Linked DNA regions of Homo sapiens: regions 2, 3 and 4 are each linked to region 1. Evidence: promoter capture Hi-C in 16 types of primary human blood cells and fetal thymus (Javierre and others, 2016). All regions are on one chromosome and are shown on one strand. Each heading gives the region's core, a stretch centred on a gene start or on the middle of the fragment in contact. The rest is flanking DNA. Distances are from core to core; before and after follow the strand shown.

The links. The method cuts DNA at HindIII sites, captures the fragments that hold promoters and counts their contacts. A CHiCAGO score of 5 or more calls a contact.
Region 2: a fragment that was not itself captured here is called in contact with the fragment with the promoter of NGRN in region 1 in 1 of 17 cell types (naive CD4 T cells); the score reaches 5.4 in naive CD4 T cells.
Region 3: the fragment with the promoter of RCCD1 here is called in contact with the fragment with the promoter of NGRN in region 1 in 8 of 17 cell types (naive CD8 T cells, non-activated CD4 T cells, total B cells and 5 more); the score reaches 9.4 in naive CD8 T cells.
Region 4: the fragment with the promoter of FURIN here is called in contact with the fragment with the promoter of NGRN in region 1 in 4 of 17 cell types (naive B cells, erythroblasts, total B cells and 1 more); the score reaches 7.3 in naive B cells.

Annotation. Positions count from the first base shown.
Region 1 is chr15:90,264,398-90,266,950 of GRCh38, reverse strand. It overlaps NGRN (neugrin, neurite outgrowth associated), which reads right to left and starts at 1,279. Exons shown (of 3, transcript NM_001033088.3): 1 at 1,075-1,279; 2 at 553-663. The coding sequence starts at 1,238. It overlaps TTLL13 (tubulin tyrosine ligase like 13), which reads right to left. Exons shown (of 15, transcript NM_001396017.1): 15 at 1,474-2,231. The coding sequence ends at 1,984. It also overlaps a transcript of CIB1 not described here. RefSeq lists enhancers at 325-1,295, 1,089-1,318, 1,679-1,808, 1,296-2,267. The HindIII fragment of the contact is 8,147 bases long and covers 47-2,553 here.
Region 2 is chr15:90,989,963-90,992,515 of GRCh38, reverse strand. All of the region lies in intron 1 of PRC1 (protein regulator of cytokinesis 1), which reads left to right. Among named protein-coding and RNA genes, the nearest start is that of PRC1, 3.3 kb to the left of the region's middle. The HindIII fragment of the contact is 7,498 bases long and covers 1-2,553 here.
Region 3 is chr15:90,953,603-90,956,155 of GRCh38, reverse strand. RCCD1 (RCC1 domain containing 1) reads right to left here and starts at 1,272. Exons shown (of 8, transcript NM_001017919.2): 1 at 1,208-1,272. It overlaps UNC45A (unc-45 myosin chaperone A), which reads right to left. Exons shown (of 20, transcript NM_018671.5): 20 at 2,063-2,553. The coding sequence ends at 2,440. It overlaps RCCD1-AS1 (RCCD1 and UNC45A antisense RNA 1), which reads left to right and starts at 1,663. Exons shown (of 2, transcript NR_170325.1): 1 at 1,663-1,821. RefSeq lists a silencer at 776-905 and enhancers at 1,126-1,235, 1,036-1,590, 2,415-2,553. The HindIII fragment of the contact is 3,970 bases long and covers 1-1,805 here.
Region 4 is chr15:90,867,306-90,869,858 of GRCh38, reverse strand. FURIN (furin, paired basic amino acid cleaving enzyme) reads right to left here and starts at 1,271. Exons shown (of 16, transcript NM_002569.4): 1 at 1,148-1,271. RefSeq lists enhancers at 1-100, 38-147, 1-180, 248-297, 1-739. The HindIII fragment of the contact is 27,514 bases long and covers 1-2,553 here.

The DNA of each region.
Region 1 (2,553 bases), core at 30-2,529:
TACTTTACCTACTCAAAACAAAAAAACTTAAAAACTCTTTTAAGCTTTCCTAAATTATAGATCCTGTCTTCAGAAAAATGCACCTACCTATGGAAGCACCAGCATCCCTGTACCTTAGGTTGGGAACGTCACAACCTACATTCAAGGGTTAAATGTTGTGATGTCTGCGATTTACTATTTAAAAATTTCAGTAAAAATGAACCAACCACGTCATAACGTTAAAAACTATTAAAACCAGGCGGGGCGCAGTGGCTCATGCCTGTAATCCCAGCACTCTGAGAGGCCGAGGCGGGAGAATCACTTGAGGTCTGGAGTTCGAGGCGATAGCGAAACCCCGTCTCTTTAAAAAACAAAACAAAACACTATTAAATCTAGATAATGACAGGGTTAGGGAAGTTCGTTATATTACTCTACTTTTCTGATAATAAATTTCAACGACAAAAAGTAAACGAAAATATAAAAGCAGTATCAAAAAAGCCAAACCCGTTTCTGGGCTCCAGCATCCTTCACTTCTCATCACAGCGGATACAAACAAGGTATCCTGAGTCTCACCGTATCTGCTCCATGGCTTCCCACGTCAGGGTCCTGGGCGGGGCACCAGGCGCCTCCATTTGCCTCCGAATTTTCTGGAATCGGATTGCTTGTTTCTGTCGTTTCAGGGTGCTGGGGGAAGAGAACCAATGGCAGAAGCCATGCGTGGAAGCAGAATGGATGTTTGAAGAGCCTCAGGCTAAATCATGGAGCGCCCAGCCCTCTTCTCTTTGATCGCAAGGGCAACCGGGCCATGTTGCCGGCTTAGAGCTGCTCCGTACACCCAGAAAGCTAACACCTAGAACAATAACTGCCTGTAAGCATGCCGAACTCTCTAAACTGATGATGAAATACGTCACTAATGAAGGGACCAGTGGTCCCAGGGGAGCTGAACACCTGACGCTGCGCCCCTAACAACGGGTAAGAAGAAACAAGGGCCGCTGCGCAAGCAGCGGCAGGACACCCGGCGCCAAGGGGGCGCGGCCTGGAGCGCCGGGGCACGAGGCCCTGCTTCAAGCTGAGGGCCCGGGGAGAAGCCGGTACCTCTCCACCTCCTGCAGCTCCCGTTCCTCCGGCTCCCAGTCGGAATCGGGGTCCGGCTCCCGGCCAATAGGGCCTGGGCCCGCCACCCCCCGGGTCGCGAACCCACAGCGAGTGACGGCGGCGCAAACGCGCCCGCCCAGCAAGAGACTCAGGGTAACCGCCATGTCGACGCAAACCAGCCTTCAGCAGTCGGCTACGAAACAGCAGCGGAAGTAGCCGGGTAAGACCGGAAGTGGAAGGGGCGGGCCGGAGGCTGGGTAGTAGCAAGTTATTTCCCGCTTCACTTGGTGGGGGTAAGATCTGGGCTCACGCTGCTCAGTGGCCCACCCTTTCTGCCTGTAACTGTGGAGAGGGCTTCCCTGAAACGTGAGGGCCGAAATGAGGTACAGGACGCTCCTGGAAAACTGCATAAACTTTAATTAAAGTACGGATTCCGTTTCCAAGAGCCGTCCCTCCGCCCCAGCGGCTGCCCAGGCCTGCCTGTCTCCGCCACCTCGGTGGGCAGGGCTTCCGCTCGGCAGTCTTCTGACGGCGACAGCCCAGTGCCTTGGGCACTCGGCTTCTCTGGGAAAGGGGCTCATTGTCTCCTGGATGGCCTCCAGCCCCGGGCCGCACCTAGGGTTCAGACCCATCACCTAGCGATAAACCCAGGCTAAGGCTTGATGAGCAGAAATGAGTACATGGCTGGCCTTGGCGCCTCTTCATCTTCTAGTCTTTACCGATCCCCAATTAATCTTAGGGTATTGAGGAATTCTTGGTGTCTTTGTATTTTGCCTTATACAAATGGGGTTCCTGGGCAGGGCTTTTCAAAGTGGAACTTGGTGGCAGTCATTCATTTAGCAAAGATTTAATGCCCTTTGGAAACCTGGGGAGGTTATCCAGGAGAGGTAGAGTGCTTCCCTCCTGCTTTTACCTGAACTGATTGATGTTGAGGAGTGCTCTGGAACGCTGCAGCATGGGTGCAGACGCAGGGCAGAGGGGAACCTTGGCTGCTCTGTGTTCAGAGTTTACCATGGAGGGCAAGGTGCATTCAGTCCATGAGTCAGATGCCACTCTTTCCGGTTGCAGAAAATAGCCCTGCTTTGGGGTTAAAGTGGGTGGCACTGATCCTGCCAGGACTCGGTTTATGGCTTCTAGCCTTCTGCTGGCTTGTCCTTCTGCAGTGGAAACATGGATGTCCCTGAGTTGGTATTCACAGAAGAGATTTGTTCACCTCTTTCCCAACTGTGGCCCAATTACCAACACAGAGGAAGGGCATCTCATGCTTCCCTCCACTGTCTTTCCCACACTGTATTGTAATTGGTATGGTATGTCTTTTTGTCCATGTTCCTATTACCTCTTGAGTGCTGGGACTGTATTTCTGCCATTTCTATCACCAGGGTCTAGTGTACAGAAAGGATTAAATAGGCCTGGTGCGGTGGCTTACACCTGTAATCCTAGCACTTTGGGAGACTGATTCAGGTGGATCAGGAGTTCAAG
Region 2 (2,553 bases), core at 39-2,538, 730 kb before region 1:
TTGGGAGGCCAAGGTGGGAGGATGACTTGAGCCCAGGAGTTCAAGACCAGCCTGGGCAACATAGCAAGACCCTGTCTCTATTTAAAAAATAATAATTTATACTAAAAAAGAAAAGAAAAATACTTCTTGAATGTTTGTTATATACAAGGAACCATTGCAAGTGTTGGGGATATAGCAGTGAGCAAAAGTGACATCCCTGCCCTCACAGAGTTTATATTCTAATAGCAAAAGAGGAGTGTAATAAATAAGTTAGTCTTAAATGGTGGTAAGTGCTATGTAGAGAAATCAAGAGGTTAAGAAGTACTGAAGGTGTAGGAAGGGGGGTTGTGGTTTTAAAGAGATGGGTCAGGAAAGGCCTCCCTGAGAAGGTGATCTCTGAGCAAAGACCTAAGAAGGAAAAGGGTGAAGCCATGCAGCATGGGGGAAAAGAGATCTAGGTAGAGGAATCAGCAAATCCAAGTGCCCTAAGGGGAGATAGCGCCTGGTATGTTCCAGAAAGAGCAAGGAGGTCGCTGTGACAGGAATAGAATGAGCACTGAGGTCAAAAGAAATGGCTTTCAGATGGAATGGGGCTCCATAGGTCTTTGGAAAGTCAGAGGCTTTTCCTTAGAGTGAGATGGCAAGTCGTTGGAGGGTTCTGAGTAGAAGATTAGGACTTGGGGCTCCTGTGTTGACAATGGACTTAAGGAGGCCAGCTTCGAAGCCGGGAGACCAGTTAAGAGGCCCCTGCCATACAGCAAGAAGTTGGTGGTGGTGACCTGGACCAGGGTGGGGGTGGTAGTGGTAGCAGCAGAGGTCAGGAGGAGTGAGATTCTGCCTGTCTTGTGTAGATAATGCTAATGGCGGGCATATAAGAAAGAAGTGTCAAGGATGATACAAGATTTAAGTTTAAAAAAAAAATTAAGTTCAGTACAATTTGAATGTTAGGAAGAGTGAGAAATGTTAGTTTTTAATTTGAAAATGATCCTCTTACAGGAAGTGTCTCTAACTAGAATAATAATAATGGGTGTTTGGTAATTCCAAACACCCATTTCCAACAGGCCAAATAAAATACGTTATATATTAGTAAAATTTTTATTTCTTTTTTTTTTTGGAGACAGTCTTGCTCTGTTGCCCAGGCTGGAGTGCAATGGCATGATCTCAGCTCACTGCAACCTCCGCCTCCTGGGTTCACCGGGTTCAAGTGATTCTCCTGCCTCAGCCTCCTGAGTATCTGGGATTACAGGCACCCACTACCACGCCCAGCTAATTTTTGTATTTCTAGTAGAGATGGGGTTTCACCATGTTGGCCAGGCTGGTCTCGAGCTCCTGATCTCAGGTGATCCGCCCGCCTTGGCCTCCCAAAGTGCTGGGATTGCACACGAGCCACCGCGCCCGGCCATAGTAAAAATCTGTAAGTTTTTCAATTAAGTCACAAATCAAAAACATTTCAGATTATGGGCCGGGCACAGTGGCTCACGCCTGTAATCCCAGCACTTTGGGAGGCCGAGGCGGTCGGATCACGAGGTCAGGAGTTTGAGACCAGCCTGACCAACATGGTGAAACCCCGTCTCTACTAAAAATACAAAAATTAGCCGGGCGTGGTGCCGTGTGCCTGTAGTCCCAGCTACTCAGGAGGCTGAGGCAGGAGAATCGCTTGATCCCAGAAGGCAGAGGTTGCAGTGAGCTGAGATCACACCATTGCACTCCGGCCTGGGTGCCAGACTGAGACTCTGTCTCAAAAAAAGAAAAAAAAAAGAAACCAAAAATGTTTTAGATTATGTGCCAAGATGTTTTTAATAACAGCTTTGAGGTATAATCCACATACCATACAATGTACTTAAATTGTATATTATAATTCAGTGATTTTTAGAATATTCAGAGTTGTGCAATCATCACTGCAATCAATTTTAGAACATTTTTATCACCCCTTTAAAATCCCATTAGCAGTCAATCCCCTTTCACCCCATGGTCCAAATTCTCCCCAGCCGCAACTACAAATCTACTTTTCGGCTAGGCAAGGTGGCGCACACCTATAATTCCAGCACTTTGGGAGCCCAAGGTGGGAGGACTACTTGAGCCCAGGAGTTCAAGAACAGCTTGGGCAACATAGAGAGACTCTACCTCTTAAAAAAAAAAAAAAAATTATTTATTTATTTATTTATTTATTTTATTTTTTATTTTATTTTATTTTATTTTTTGAGATGGAGTCTCACTCTGTCACCCAGGCTGGAGTGCAGTGACGTGATCTCAGGTCACTGCAACCTCCACCTCCCGGATTCAAGCAATTCTCCTGCCTCAGCCTCCCGAGTAGCTGAGATTACAGGTGCCCACCACCACACCCAGCTAATTTTTGTATTTTTAGTAGAGACGGGGTTTCACCATATTGGCCAGGCTGGTCTCAAACTCCTGACCTCGTGATCCGCCGGTCTTGGCACCCAAAGTGCTGGGATTACAGGAGTGATCCACCGCACCCGGCCTAAAAAAAAATTTTATTGTTTAAGTTAGCTGGGTGTGGTGGCTCACATCTGTAGTCCCAGCTACTCCGGAGGCTCAGGTGGGAGGATCACCTGA
Region 3 (2,553 bases), core at 23-2,522, 690 kb before region 1:
GCCTCTGCAACTCAGCGGGGCCTTGGGACCGCAGCCAATCCACCTGAGTCCAACTGCGTTTCTTCAGTTTACAAAGGGAGGTGGGGGCGGTGCTGTTTGAACCTTCCTCACAGAATTGTAATAAATGCAAATAAAGGGTTTGGTGCGAGTACATGCCATGATAAACACACAGTATTAGCTTACTGAATCCAGTATTTAGTGTTGACAAAAAAATTATCCCTGGACATCTTACTGGTTTTGAGAAACTTATACAGACAGAATTTCAACTGTACCTTATCTAGCCATTTATTCGTCCAGCGAGCATTTACTGAGCGCTCCTCCTCTGCCAGTGAGGACAGCTGTCTGCTCCCAAGGAGCTAACCGTTAAATGGGGAGACAAACAGTCTGGTGGTTACAACAGCAACGCCAACTTCAAGCAGATTCGGCTGGAGCGGGTTTGTTTTTTTTTTTTTTTAATATAATAGAGACAGGGGTCTCGCTATGCTGCCCAGGCTGGTCTCAAATTCCTGGGCTCGAGTGATCCGCCCGCCTCGGCCTCCCAAAGCGTTGGGATTACAGGCGTGAGCCGCTGCACCCGGGCTGAAGCAGAATTGCATGGGCATTTTCAGGCCTCTTAAGTCAGATCCTGGGTCTCTCCTGAGACCCCAGTTCCTGGGCTCCTAACCCCTTCCGTGTCCTCTCCCAACCCAAGGGGGCCTCTGACCTTGATCTTGACCCTATGCCCTCTACCCTCTCGGGCAGGTCCTTCTGGTGGGCAGCCTTGGAGGAAACGCCGAGGCGCAGAGCGGCCGCCTCCGGAAAGGCCTCCCGCCCAGCGGGCGCCGACAGCCACGGGGAGAAAAGGTTTGAAGGGCGCGCGGCGCGAGGCGGCCAATCACCAGCAAGGGCGGTGACGTCGCCGCCCGGGGCGCGGCGGCCGCAGCCCTGTTCAACTCCCCTTGAGGGCCTCTCCGGTCCCGAGGCCTACGCCGGGGCCCTGCGGCCCGGTCTGTGAAATGGGCTGAAACCTCCGAGGGGCGTTGGACCAAGGCCCTGGAGGAAACCGGGGGCGTTGGACCAAGGCAGAGGTTGGGCCAGGTGGTCCCGCCCCTGCAGGAACCCGTGGGGCTGGAGCTCGGATTAGAACCACAGAGAGGACATTCATTAAGACTTGAGCTAAAGGTTTGGCGAGGAGTGACGCCCAAGACGGGCGGACCCCGCCACCCACCTCAGTCCCGGGACCGCGGCAGCTCAAAACCCGACACGCGCCGGACTCATGCCCCAACAGGAAGCAGCTTTTACCTTCCACGGATTGGCTCAGGACCCGTCACGTGCCTCTGTCGAGCCAACGAGCCTCACGCTGGGCTTAGCCCTCCTCGAACGTGCTGGGGTGGTGGGCGGGGCCCAAGCCGCCCTTCAACCAGGCTCAGCTGGCCACCAACCCCAACCCCCGCCCCAGCGCCCTCAGCGGAGGCCACAGAGGACTCCCAATATAAAGACAAACGTACTGAAGGCCCAGCATATGGGAGTCTCTACCCTAAACGACTTATTTCTTGGGATAGTTTAATATTTTTTGAGATAGGGTCTCGCTGTGTCGCCCAGGCGACACTTTGGGAGGCTGCGCTCTGGGCTCACTGCAACCTTCGCCTACCGAGTAGCTGGGATTACAGGTGCATGCCGCCACACTCTGCTCTTTTTTTTTTTTTTTTTTTTTTTTTGGTATTTTTATAGAGAAAGAGTTTTGCTTGTTGCCCAGGCTGGTCTCGAACCCCTGACTTCAAGTGATCCACCTGCCTCAGCCTCCCAAAGCGCTGGGATTACAAGCTTGAGGCACCGCACCTGGTGAGTTTCTTATTGATTAGCTTCCTAGGCTTACCCTTTGTCCCTCCAGTAGGATTAAGAAGCAACTCAGTGGGCCCTGGTTGGGGAATCCATTGGATTCCTTCCATGGAGGTGGGTCTGCCACTGTGAAGCTCCGTTGCACACTCACCCACGCCCAGCTCACACCCATACTCACCCACACTCACCCACTCAGAGACTCCCACTCACAGCAGCCCTCCCTGCCCAAGGACAGGGCACACAGTGGAGTTCTACACACTTTTATTGGAGGGGCAGGCCTGATAGCAGGCTCACAGCTGGTGAGGCTGCTGATGTGTGCGCCCTTCCAGATGCCCCAGGATCCACAGGCTGTGTTGGGATGCACCTTCCCCATTCCCAGCTGACTACAGTAGTACAGAAAAAGGGCCCCTCTGAGTGAGGCTGCAGGCAGTGCTGGCCAAGCAGGGCTGTGTGACTGAACGTGGCCGCTGACTCAGAACAGAGGACATCCTAGGGCAGCAAGCGAGGATGGGCAAGAGTATTGGGCATGCCAGCCACCACCAGCCAAAGCTGCTTCCGTCCTTACTCTCCGTGCCACAATAGGTAGCGTGTGCATGAGCCTTGGGCCCAGGGACAACCCCCTCACTCTCCATCTTGGTTGGGTTGGATAAGCCCATATTCCACTGCTTTGTCCAGGCAGGCTGCAGCAGCCCTTGTGACAGGGCTGTGGTCACCCTTAGCTAGCACTGACAAGAT
Region 4 (2,553 bases), core at 22-2,521, 600 kb before region 1:
GACAGGGCTGGCCCCACCTACCCACTTGTCCTCAGGCCTAGAAGAAAGGTCAGCCCAGAAAAATAGCAATACTTGCTGCTTCAGGTGCCCCACCCATCCTGGAGACTGGCCCCAGGGGAGCCCGCAGTGGGTCTTTGGAGGGGGAGGGGCTAGCCTAGGCTCAGATGACTGCCACCCAGGCAGAGGCGGTGGGAAGTGGAGCTTCCCAGTTTCTTCCAGCCAGCTTGCCTCTTCAATCTGCATAAGGCAAAATTCTTTAAAGTGGGTTCTCAGAGGTGCCTCCCTGAGAGGGAGGAATGAGGACAGGATTGGGCAGTTGAGCACCTCTCTCTGCTTCACCCAGAGTGTCTCACATTTTAGGGTTTCACATGAGATTGTATTTTACAACAATTCTGCTGCTAAAAAGAATTTGAAAGCCACTCTCTGTGAGACTTCTCTGGAAAAAAATCCCATTTGACCACAACTGGTGACTTCTGCCTTTATCTCATTGCAACAAGTCCTGTGGGCAGGTATTGTTCTCTTTATCACTCTCAACTGGCCCTGGAGCCCAGGTCTCCTGACCTGGGGCCCTAGGGGCCCAAGGTCCTCTGGATCCCACCTTACCAGTTTTACACAGCAGTTAGCAGGACTTGGGCATGTGACAGAAGTCTGGAGATGAGTGAGAGGAGCAGGGCCTGATGGGTAAGTGGGGGCTGTAAAGGGGCTCCATTTTCCCAGCAGGGCTCTGGGAGGAAGAGTCCAGCTAGGCCTCTCTTTATCCTTGATTTGGGGCTAATCCAGAGAGGCTCCTGAGAATCACATAGTCCTAAATCCACCCAGTCATCCTGACTCCAAGCACTCCTGTTGTCTCCTTGGGGTGCTCTGGGAGTCTTCTCTGAAATCTCTGGTCCACCTCAGGCACAGCAAATAAAGCCTTCGGCAGCAGCACCCACACCTAGTTGTAAGCAGAATGTCTACACAACATTCAGACGTGCATAGAAGGGTGCACAACAAAATTCCATTGGTGTTCTCTCCGAATGAAAGGGTCACATTTGCGATCTTTGTTTTCTTCTTTTTGCCTACCTGCATTTTTCAGGAATGTCTACAAGAACTCCTAAAATAATTAAACCTTTAAGTCAATGCAAAATCGAATAAAGCATGTCCATACTTCACCATCCAGCTCCAGAGCACCTGGGATTCATCCTGGCCGCTGCTGCTTCCCCGCCACTCACTGCAGCTGCAACAGTCAGGCTCCTATCCCTTCACAGGGCGGGGCCCTTCCAGTTCTGGCTAAACCACTTTGGGAAAACCTTCTTTATATGACAGGCAAACAGGGTGTCTGTGGGTGGGGGGAGGAGCTAAAAGTGATGTGGTGGTGACATATCTGGTCGCACTGGAACTGGATCCTAACATGGCCAGCCAGCCCTTCTCATTTTCCTCATTTATTGGGGTGGGTCTGCACTTACCTTCTGCCTGGCTTTGCTGCATCCCAGCCACTGGCTGACTTAATGACTTCCTTCCGCCAGCTCCAGCTCCTTGTGTTCTGCCTTGCCTTCCATGGCCAGCCAGTGCTGCCACAATTATGTACCTAATAAATGCTTTGGGTGCAGTCTCGCCTGGCAGACATTCATTGAGCAGCTGCTGAACGCTGGGCTCTGGTGCCCCATAGCTGGGTCCCTTAGAGCTTGTCCATAGGAAGCCAGAGACCACCTCTCTAGTAGGGTTGCATGGAGGTACCTGGGACACACCAGGGTCTTCCTCAGTCTGCGACCTCCCTGGCCTTCCAGCTTCAACAAGCCTGCTGCCCATCCTTCTCTCTCTCGATTCAGAAATGTGAATCACTCAATCCTCATAGTTTTTTTTGTTTGTTTGTTTTATGGGTTTGTTTTTTTTTTTTCTAGACAAGAGTCTCGCTCTGTTGCCCAGGCTGGAATGCAATGGCCTGATCACAGCTCACTGCAACCTCTGCCTTCTGGGTTCAGGCGATTCTCATGCTTCAGCCTCCCAAGTAGCTGGGATTACAGGCTTACGCCACTCGTATTTTTTTTTTTTTTTTTTGTATTTTTAGTAGAGATGGGGTTTTGCCATGTTGGCCAGGCTGGTCTCGCACTCCTGACCTTAAGTGATACACCCACCTCGGCCTCCCTAAGTGCTGGGATTATTAGGCGTGAGCCACCACGCCCGGTCCCCTTGTTGAGTTTTCAATCAGTTTGTCATCCTGAACAGGGTTTCTCAACCTTGGCATTATCAACATCTTGGGTCGGATAATTCTCTGTAGGGGACACTGCACTCTACATTGCAGGATGTTCAGTCGCATCCCTAGTCACTAAACATTAGCTGCTAGTAGCATTCCCGCTCCCATGATGACAACCAAAAAGATCTCCAGGTATTGCCAAATGTCCCTTGGGAGACAAAAATCTCTCCCAGCAAAGAACCACTGTCGCAGAATGAGGAGTGGGAACGTCACAGGATGGTGGTTAGTGTGCCAGGGTTCGAGGCAGCAAGAGTTGTCTGCTGGGAACTAAGCTCTGAGACAGCTAGCAGTGAGGGAGAAAACTCCCAAACTTGAAACTG